2 separate regions of the Homo sapiens genome follow, and region 2 is linked to region 1. The links are contacts of gene promoters, found by promoter capture Hi-C in blood cells and fetal thymus (Javierre and others, 2016). All regions are on one chromosome and are shown on one strand. Each heading gives the region's core, a stretch centred on a gene start or on the middle of the fragment in contact. The rest is flanking DNA. Distances are from core to core; before and after follow the strand shown. Region 1 holds the start of RSC1A1 (regulator of solute carriers 1). Region 2 overlaps DNAJC16 (DnaJ heat shock protein family (Hsp40) member C16).

What was found. The method cuts DNA at HindIII sites, captures the fragments that hold promoters and counts their contacts. A CHiCAGO score of 5 or more calls a contact.
Region 2: a fragment that was not itself captured here is called in contact with the fragment with the promoter of RSC1A1 in region 1 in 1 of 17 cell types (M2 macrophages); the score reaches 6.3 in M2 macrophages.

What each region holds. Positions count from the first base shown.
Region 1 is chr1:15,657,468-15,661,918 of GRCh38, reverse strand. It overlaps RSC1A1 (regulator of solute carriers 1), which reads right to left and starts at 2,206. Exons shown (of 1, transcript NM_006511.3): 1 at 1-2,206. The coding sequence starts at 2,050. The coding sequence ends at 197. It overlaps DDI2 (DDI proteasomal shuttling factor 2), which reads right to left. Exons shown (of 10, transcript NM_032341.5): 10 at 1-2,082. The HindIII fragment of the contact is 1,265 bases long and covers 1,506-2,770 here.
Region 2 is chr1:15,556,416-15,560,866 of GRCh38, reverse strand. It overlaps DNAJC16 (DnaJ heat shock protein family (Hsp40) member C16), which reads right to left. Exons shown (of 15, transcript NM_015291.4): 8 at 1,211-1,341. Among named protein-coding and RNA genes, the nearest start is that of AGMAT, 26 kb to the left of the region's middle. The HindIII fragment of the contact is 8,182 bases long and covers 1-4,451 here.

The sequences.
Region 1 (4,451 bases), core at 957-3,456:
TAGACAAATTCATCAGACAAAAGATCATAAATTACTTTGGCCGAAAAAAATCTTTAAAAAAAATCTGGCTCAACATTCTGCTTGCAGGTTTCTATATATACTGTATATGTGGTGAGTGTGTATGTGTGCGTGTATATAGAGAGAGCTTTCTTTTGTTTAAAGGGAATGGAGAACGGTCTAGCCCACTTTCCCACAGTCATGTAGGAACTACGATGTTTTTTGCGAGCAAAACAAGAAGTGCAAGGTCTGCATTCCCACCAACTCGATGCAAAGCTCCAAGAGCTTCCTGCAAAGTAAAGCCAGCACGGAGAATGCGGTCAATATCTGTGGCAGGAAAAATCAATGGTGGAAGAATGGCAGGACTTGATGATGGATGGCTGGTAGGTGGTTCATATTCAAGTAATGGCCTCGAAGCATCAGGACAGACATTTTCTCTGGTTTCAGGCCTGTCTGTTACTGAATTCTGTATGCCCTGACCTAAGTCTTTAACCAATATGAAATTGGATGACAAAGACTTAGTTTGCTCAGAAGTCTGATTGAGTGCATCCTCCTCACCTGCTAAAAGTTTGGGTGAAATTTCTACACCTAAGGTGCAGTGTAACTGATTGGATGTTTTAGCTGAGGTTACAGTGACAGAACGGTTCTTATTTATGGATTCCCTAGATTTGGGGACACCTTCCTTATCGGTTGACAGGCCATCACCTAGACTCCTGAAGTTTACATTTTCTACAGCTTCTCTTCCAGTGTCAGATGAAGTACCTGTTAATTTTTCTGTCTCCACTGATACAGATATGGCCTGATGAAAGGAGACTTGTGGACACTGTTCATTCTGGGTAAGATGCTCATTTTGGGTCCATCTTTCAGAAAGGTCTTTAATACTGGTTTGGCCCTCAGCTATGGTTTCTGATTGACAGATTACTTCTTCAGATGTATTTTCTGAAGCTGGTTTACTGCTAACAACCAAAAGTTCATGAAGTTCTTTCAAGGCTGCCGTTATAGACGGGCAAGATTCTTCTGCTGACTCCACAGAAGGCTGACAACTGCCACAGAGACTTGGAGAGGAGTAATGGCCATATTCTTTATTTGTTCCAGGTATTTCAACATTAGTTTCTGGGGGCTGTAAATCCTGAGTGGAAATGGAATCATTCAAAATTTCAGATGAAGGGTTACATTTTGATGTTTCTACTTCCATCAAGGGATTATCTAAAGTGAGATCCAATGCACCAATGTTCTTGACATTGGCATTCTGCCTGCCTGTTGAATTAAGCAAAGTAACTAGGGACTGTTGAGCTGTATCGATTTCCATAAATGTTTCTGAATTTGAGCAGCCACTGCATTCTGAAGATGGAATACTTTTCTTCGCACTTGGAGGATCCACATTCTGTGGGAGCCCATTTCCTTTCATCGTAGCTTCCAAATCAACAATTTTGTGTTGATTCTGTTGCCTTTCTTCAGGAAGCTCAAGGTCCCCTATGTTACAAAGATATTCTTGGTCATGTGAAGCTTTTTGTTGTGCAACCTCATACTGTTCATTCCCTGGTTCTTCGTGCTGCTGAGGGTCACTCACTTGACTCAGGTTCTGATTTTCTGGATGCCAATCCTTTTCACCTAGAAACATCTGTGGTTCATGCATCCTAGTAGATGTGACAGATAAACTAGCTTCCTGTCTTGTATGGAGATGAAATTTGAGGCCCTGGGTGCTTCTTTCAGCAGATTTCTCCAGATTACCTGCAACAGTTATTTCTTCGGATGAATTCTGCATAGGCATAGCTGGACTCTGGTCTGTTGGAGCATGGTCTGCTGAGGAAGCATGATCAGAAAGATCTTGTAAAGAAAGATGTTCTTTCTTTTCAGAGTTTAGCTGGAATTCAGCTGAAGCCTTCAAAGCCTTCACAGCTTTAGGTTCAATGCGATCTGAGTCACTGGGCTTGATAGGGCAGACTGAAGCAGAGACAGAGCGAGCAAGACTCATAGGATTACCAACATCAGGACTCTGTCCTGAAGAACGGGCGGGATGGTTAAACCCATCTGAAGTTGGTAATGATGACATTCCCAGTGAGGTAGATTCTTTACCACTTTTCTCTATATGGAACACAGGGGAAAGGAAAAAGATTAATTAGCAGGTGACTAATGCCACTAAATTACCAGAGGATACAAATCTAAACAGCGTAGAATAAAATAAGGTCCTCAAACTCGGGTTTCTCTTACACAAATAGAAATGATTTTAAAATTACTTTCTCATTGTGGTAGACATTCACAGCATCAGAATAAGAGGTAGACATGTTCTTAATAAAATCTGCATACTGTAATTCAATGTGATTAAGTATCCATTAATATGCATTCACATAATGGCGGGGTTAGTGCTCAGGAATGAAGGACATTTATGTTTCTTTATTCCCTAGTCTAGTCTACAACTCTAGAATAGTTTCTCCAAGTGTACTTTTTTCACCACTTGCCCTAAAACCACCAGGGACGCTTGTGAAGTATGCAGACCCTGGGGTACCATACTTGAGAGTAAATCCAGGAATGTGCATTTTCAATAAGCTCCTTGGGTGATTCTTAAGGATATTACAAATCCTGAGAATCTTTGCACCAGAATGATTCTCATGTTAATGCACTTTTCTTGTTTCAAATGTGAACACTGAGGTTACAAATGAGAAGTCTTAAACCAGGTATACCTGGACAGAGAGGGAATTATAAAGAGAAATAAGAAATAACATAATGCTTGGGGACAGAGAAGCAAATGTTCTATTTTATTTCTAGCCAAGCTTTCCAAAAATCATGGTAAAACTGGGTGAGCATCTGACTCAGAAAACAAAAGTAAACTAATGATCAGCAGATTAAATCACAATCATCATCCTACCAAATAATACAACTCTAAACTTAAAAGGCTTATAAGTTTTTATCACATCAATAGTGTGCAACTAAGTTAAGAATATTTAAATGTTTTAAAGAAAGGGGAATGTGGAGGGAGATGGTTCATTAATAGTTTTTCAACTGGCAATGACTATTTAGATTCACTGCTACCTTAGACCACCCAAACAAGACGGCTCAGTGTAAGCATCATAGTATCATTAAACATCATTTCCAGCTCTTCTTTTGCCACCAATCCAGTTAAAAATTGACCTCTACGCATGTAAGTGTAAGAATTTTTTTTTTTTTTTAAGACTGTGTTTTGCTCTTGTTGCCCAGACAGGAGTACAATGGCGCCATCTGAGCTCACCGCAACCTCCGCCTCCCGGGTCCAAGCGATTCTCCTGCCTCAGAGTAGCTGGGATTACATGCATGCGCCACACACCCGACTAATTTTGCATTTTTAGTAGAGATGAGGTTTCTCCACGTTGGTCAGGGTGGTCTCAAACTCTTGACCTCAGGTGATCCGCCCGCCTCAGCCTCCCAAAGTGCTTGGATTACAGGCAAGAGCCACCGCACCCGACCATTGTAAGATCTTTAATTAAAAATCAAAAAGGGCTGGGCACAGTGGCTCATGCCTGTAATCCCAGCACTTTGGGAGGCCGAGGCAGGTGGATCACCTGAGGTCAGGAGTTCGAGACCAGCCTGGCCAACGTGGTGAAACCTCATCTCTACTAAAAATACAAAAATTAGCCAGGCGTGGTGGTGGGTGCCTGTAATCCCAGCTACTAGGTAGGCTGAGGTGGGAGAATTGCTTGAACCCAGGAGGGAGAGGTTGCAGTGAGCCAAGACTGCACCACTGCACTCCAGCCTGGGTGACAGAGTGAAACTCAGTCAAAATAAAAAATAATAATAATAAAAAATAAAAATCAAAAGGTCAGTAACAAAAATGACTTCAAAATACAATCTATTATTAGGACAGATGCAACTCAAATGCTCAGTACTAAATGTTAACATCCAACAAGAGGGCTTGATCTTAAAAAGCAGCAAAGCAGTTATATTCAAAAGGCTTTAAATCATTCTAATAAACTACTGGTTAACAGCATGAGAAGACAAAGCATTGTTTCAGGAAGCTATTGACTTCCCATGAAACAATCTTACCTTACTTACACTTTAGGAGTAAAAAGGAAAACTGCACTTATCTCAGTTTAGGCTATACCCATTAGAGTCTAGAAACACAGTTATTAGTTTTTTTATTTTCATACCACCAGATGTCTAACAGTTATTAGTTTTATTTAAAACTAAGGCTGACTCTGGAAGAGGTTGAATTTTGAACTAATGTTAACAGAAACAATGCACTGTAGTGAAATATCCATGTAAGCAACATAAAGAGGTATGGTAAGGGCCTTCTGGTATTTGTGTGTTAGTTATAAACAAGTGAGGTCAAGGTGAACACACCCTCAATGAATTTTGTACTAAAAAAGTAGCATATAGTCCTCTTGTAGCTGAGAAGGTCAGTTTCACTAGCCTAAGTCCTAAACGTAGGGGAGGACTAGGTCAGTTTACAGAATGACAGGAGAAGAGGATGAGGACAGTGG
Region 2 (4,451 bases), core at 496-2,995, 100 kb after region 1:
GGAGCAGAGAGACTAGTTAGAAGGCTGCCAGGGGGGTCTCGCTGGGAGACGATGGTGGCTTGTTCCAGGGTGGCAGTGGTTAAAAAAAGTGAGAAGTGTGTGGATTTGGGATATTTTTTGAAGGCTGTGTAAACAACAATCCTTACAGTCCAGGATATTCTTTTTTTATATTTAAGTCATTTTTTTCTTCGCTCTTAAGACTATAAAGGAATCTGAAAAGCCTAGACACACAGGGAAATTATGTTTTATATTTTCAAGTTACATGATTGATATGTTTTCCTTCCATATCCAGATACCTTTTACAGATGAAACAGCCCTAAATTTAAAGCTACTGATTCATTCACCTGAGAAGGTGTAATGAATACATTCCCTGAATTTCTAGACTTTTTAGATACTTTGTATAATAACTCTTCCTACTTTATTGAATACATGTAACTTAGCCTTCCCGATTCCCACCAATCCATTTCCTCAATACTCTGTACTTCCCTACTGTTTAATTGTTATCCTTGCTCCTTCCCAAGACCTCCAAAGACTCACCCTGTGTGGAATGCTTTAGTAGGGACAGTCACTCTTCCATATTCTGTGCTTCTGTAAAGTGACCCAGTCTATCCCAGACGCCTGGCTAAACTGTGCTCATCCTTCAGGTCTCAGCTGAAATGTTACATCTTAGGGAAATCTTCTCTGACCACTAGGACAGGCTGGCACATCTGACAATTTGGTGCTAAAGTGCCCTGGACTAATACATCATATTAGTATGATTACCATCACAGTCACTAATCAGTGTTTTTTTTTTTTTTTTTTTTGAGACAGAGTTTCACTCTTGTTGCCCAGGCTGGAGTGCAATGGCATGATCTCGGCTCACCGCAACCTCTGCCTCCCAGGTTCAAGTGATTCTCCTGCCTCAGCCTCCCTAGTAGCTGGGATTACAGGCATAAGCCACCATGCCCGGCTAATTTTGTATTTTTAGTAGAGATGGGGTTTCTCCATGTTGGTCAGGCTGGTCTTGAACTCCGGACCTCAGATGATCCGCCCTCCTCGGCCTCCCAAAGTGCTGGGATTACAGGCATGAGCCACCATGCCCGGCCCAGTATTTGTTAAATGAAGAATAAGTTCTCAATGTTACAGGGCAGATGTCTAGTCACCCTATAGTAAAATGAATCATGATCCTTCTATTGTAATAACAAGCAGAGGCAAAGCCTTAAGTCCTTACTTCCTCTGTCGATGCGACCGTTTCACAGGGCAGAGTTCATGGAACAACTTCTGGCTGGTGAGCCTGGCTGCCAATAGATATTTGTTTCGGGTGATGAAGTCGTCAATGATTTGCTTCTTCATACCTCGGGCCTAGAGAAAAACCAAGAATCAGCTAGATTTTATGCAGTGTTCTCAATGCAAATAGATGGGCTTTCTTTACTTACCAGCTTAATAAAAACGTAGCTGACCTTGGCTAAAGTAATATAACCAAACAAGACAGACCTGTTTGAGCGAATAAACATGTGGTGATCTATTTCAGCAATGCAGGGCTGAAAGCAATGATGCAGCTATTTCGGGTCAAAGGGAAAATCAAGTACACTTTCCACTGGAGAATTTTTATTCACTGTTTTATGCTGACAAATTAAAAAAGTCAGTCATGGCCGGACGTGGTGGCTCACATCTGAAATCCTAGAACTTTGGGAGGCTGAGGTGGGTAGATCACGAGGTCAGGAGTTTGAGACCAGCCTGGCCAACATAGTGAAACCCCGTCTCTGCTAAAAATACAGAAATTAGCCAGGCATGGTGACGTGTGTCTGTAGTCCCAGCTACTTGGAAGGCTGAGGCAAGAGAATCAGTTGAACCTGGGAGACGGAGGTTGCAGTGAGCCGAGATCACGCCACTGCACTTTAGCCTGGGCGACAGAGCGAGACTCCATCTCAAAAACAAAACAAAACCAAACACAAAACAAAACAAAAACCCAAAACGAAAAGTCAATCATTTTGAATTTTAGGCAAAATTATTTCCATTCAGGATTTGTAGCGAACTGGGCAATTAAAAATAAATCCCAAAGCAACAATGTTGCAAAGTATAAAAGGCAGGTTACAAAACCGTGTGACCATTTTATTGCTAACTTTCACACATTTCAAAGGATTGAAATCATTGACAGCAGGTATTCTGACCACAAGGTAATTAACCTAGAATTCCATTTAAAATGCAAACCAGAAATGTAAACATTTCCCTTTATGTTTGGAAATTAAGAAACACGGCCAGGTATGGAGGCTCATTCCTCTAACCCAAATGCTTTGGGAGGCCAAGGCAAGAGGATCCCTTGAACCCAAGAGTTAGAGACCAGCCTGTGCAACATGGAGAGATCCCATCTCTACAAAAAATTAAAAACAAACAAACAAAAGGCCAGGCACAGTGGCTCACTCCTATAATCCCCGAACTTTGGGAGGCCGAAGCAGGAGGATTGCTTGAGCTTAGAAGATCGAGACCAGCCTGGGCAACATAATGAGATCTTGTCTCTACTAAAAATAAAAAAACATTAGCCAGGCATGATGGTGGTGCATGCCTGCAATCCCAGCTACCTGGGAGGTGGAGGTGGGAGGACTGCTTGAGCCCAAGACTTAAGAGACTGCAGTGAGCTAGGATCACACCACTGGACTCTAGCCTGTGTGACAGACTGAGACCCTGTCTCAAGAAAAAAAAAAAAAAAAAAAAAAAAGGGCTGGGTATGGTGGCTCATGCCTGTAATCCCAGCACTTTGGGAAGTCAAGGCAGGTGGATCACTTGAGGTCAGGAGTTCAAGACCAGCCTGTGCAACATAGTGAAACCCTGTCTCTACTAAAAGTACAAAAATTAGCCAGGCGTGGCCTTAGTCCCAGCTACTCAGGAGGCTGAGGCAGGAGGACTGCTTGAGGCTGGGAGAGCATACCAGCCTGGGCAACGGGAGTGAAACCCTGTCTCATAAAAGAAAAAAAAGGAAAAAAAAAGTTGTTAGCTGGGCATGGTGGCATGTGCCTGTAGTCCCAGCTACTTGGGAGGTTGAAGGGTGAGGATCACTTGAGCATAGGAGGCCAAGGCTGCAGTGAGCCATGATGACATCACTACACTCCAGCCTGGGTGACAGAGCAAGACTGACTAAAAAAGAAAAAAAAAAAACCAAAACAAGAACGCCTATCAGATATTAGAAAATATTTTGAACTTTAATGACTGATGAAAAATACTATTTATAAGAACTCTGAGATACATATAAAGTAGTACTTGAAGGGGAATTTTACAATTAACATAATAGAAAAGAAGTTAATGAAATAAACATCTGTCAAGTCAAAAACAGCAAAAATATAAAAGTAGAAAGGAAATAATACAGATAAAAATAGAAATTAATGAAACAAGAAATGAATATATTAATATAAGAAGAAGAATTAACAAAGACAAAACTGGTTCTTTGAAAAAGCTAATACAATCGACAAGCCTCTGGTAAAACCAACCATGAAAACAAAAGAGAAGGCATAAAATAATCATTCTCAAAGATGACAAGAAGGAATCACTACCTACAATGCAGAAGTTAAAACAGAAAACCTAAATAATCAGTAGTCAAAAATCTTTCCTTAAAGCGAAACCCAGAAACCCAAGCTCAAGGCCCAAATGGCATTACAGATGCTTTCAATCAAACTTTCAAGGAAGACAATCTCACATAAAGTCTTCCTGAGAAGAGAAAAAGCAACACATGGGTATCACGATAAGGAAAAGTTAGAAGTCAATCTCATTTCTGAACATGAATGTCAAAGTCCTAAGCAAAATGTTAGCAAATGGAATCCAGCAATATATTGAAAGCATAATAGAAATCATAATCTTGTTGGATTTATTTCATGAGTGCAAGTTAGGTTTAACATTAGAGAATGAATTAATATGAGTTAGCACAATATAGATTAAAGAAGAAAAATCAGAATAATCTAATGGATGTAGAAAAAGTATTTGATAAAAATCATACCAATTGTGGTTAGAACTTTTAGTCAACAAGGAGTAGAAGGACCTTCTTTAACCTGATAAAGGGTATCCACATTTTAAAAGCCTTCTGCAAACACACTTATTGGGGAAATGCTGAAAGCCTTCCCTCTCTTTGAAATCAAGAACAAGGACAGCCCCCGATTACTACACTTCTATTCCACATCATGTCAGCTGTCAGGAGTAATGTCAGAAAAAGAAATAAAATGAGGGCTGGAAAAAAAAAGAAGTAAAATTGTCATTAATCTCAGATGATATGATTACATAGTTAGCTGATCTAAAAGATGGTACAGATAAATTATTTAAGTTAATAGAAGAGTTTAGCAAGGTTGCTGGATGATACAAAGTTTTTGTTTCAAAATCAAGGCTGGGCGCGGTGGCTCACGCCTATAATCCCAGCACAGTGGGAGGCCGAGGCGGGCAGATCACCTGAGACCAGCCTGGCCAACATGGCGAAACCCCTCCTCGACTAA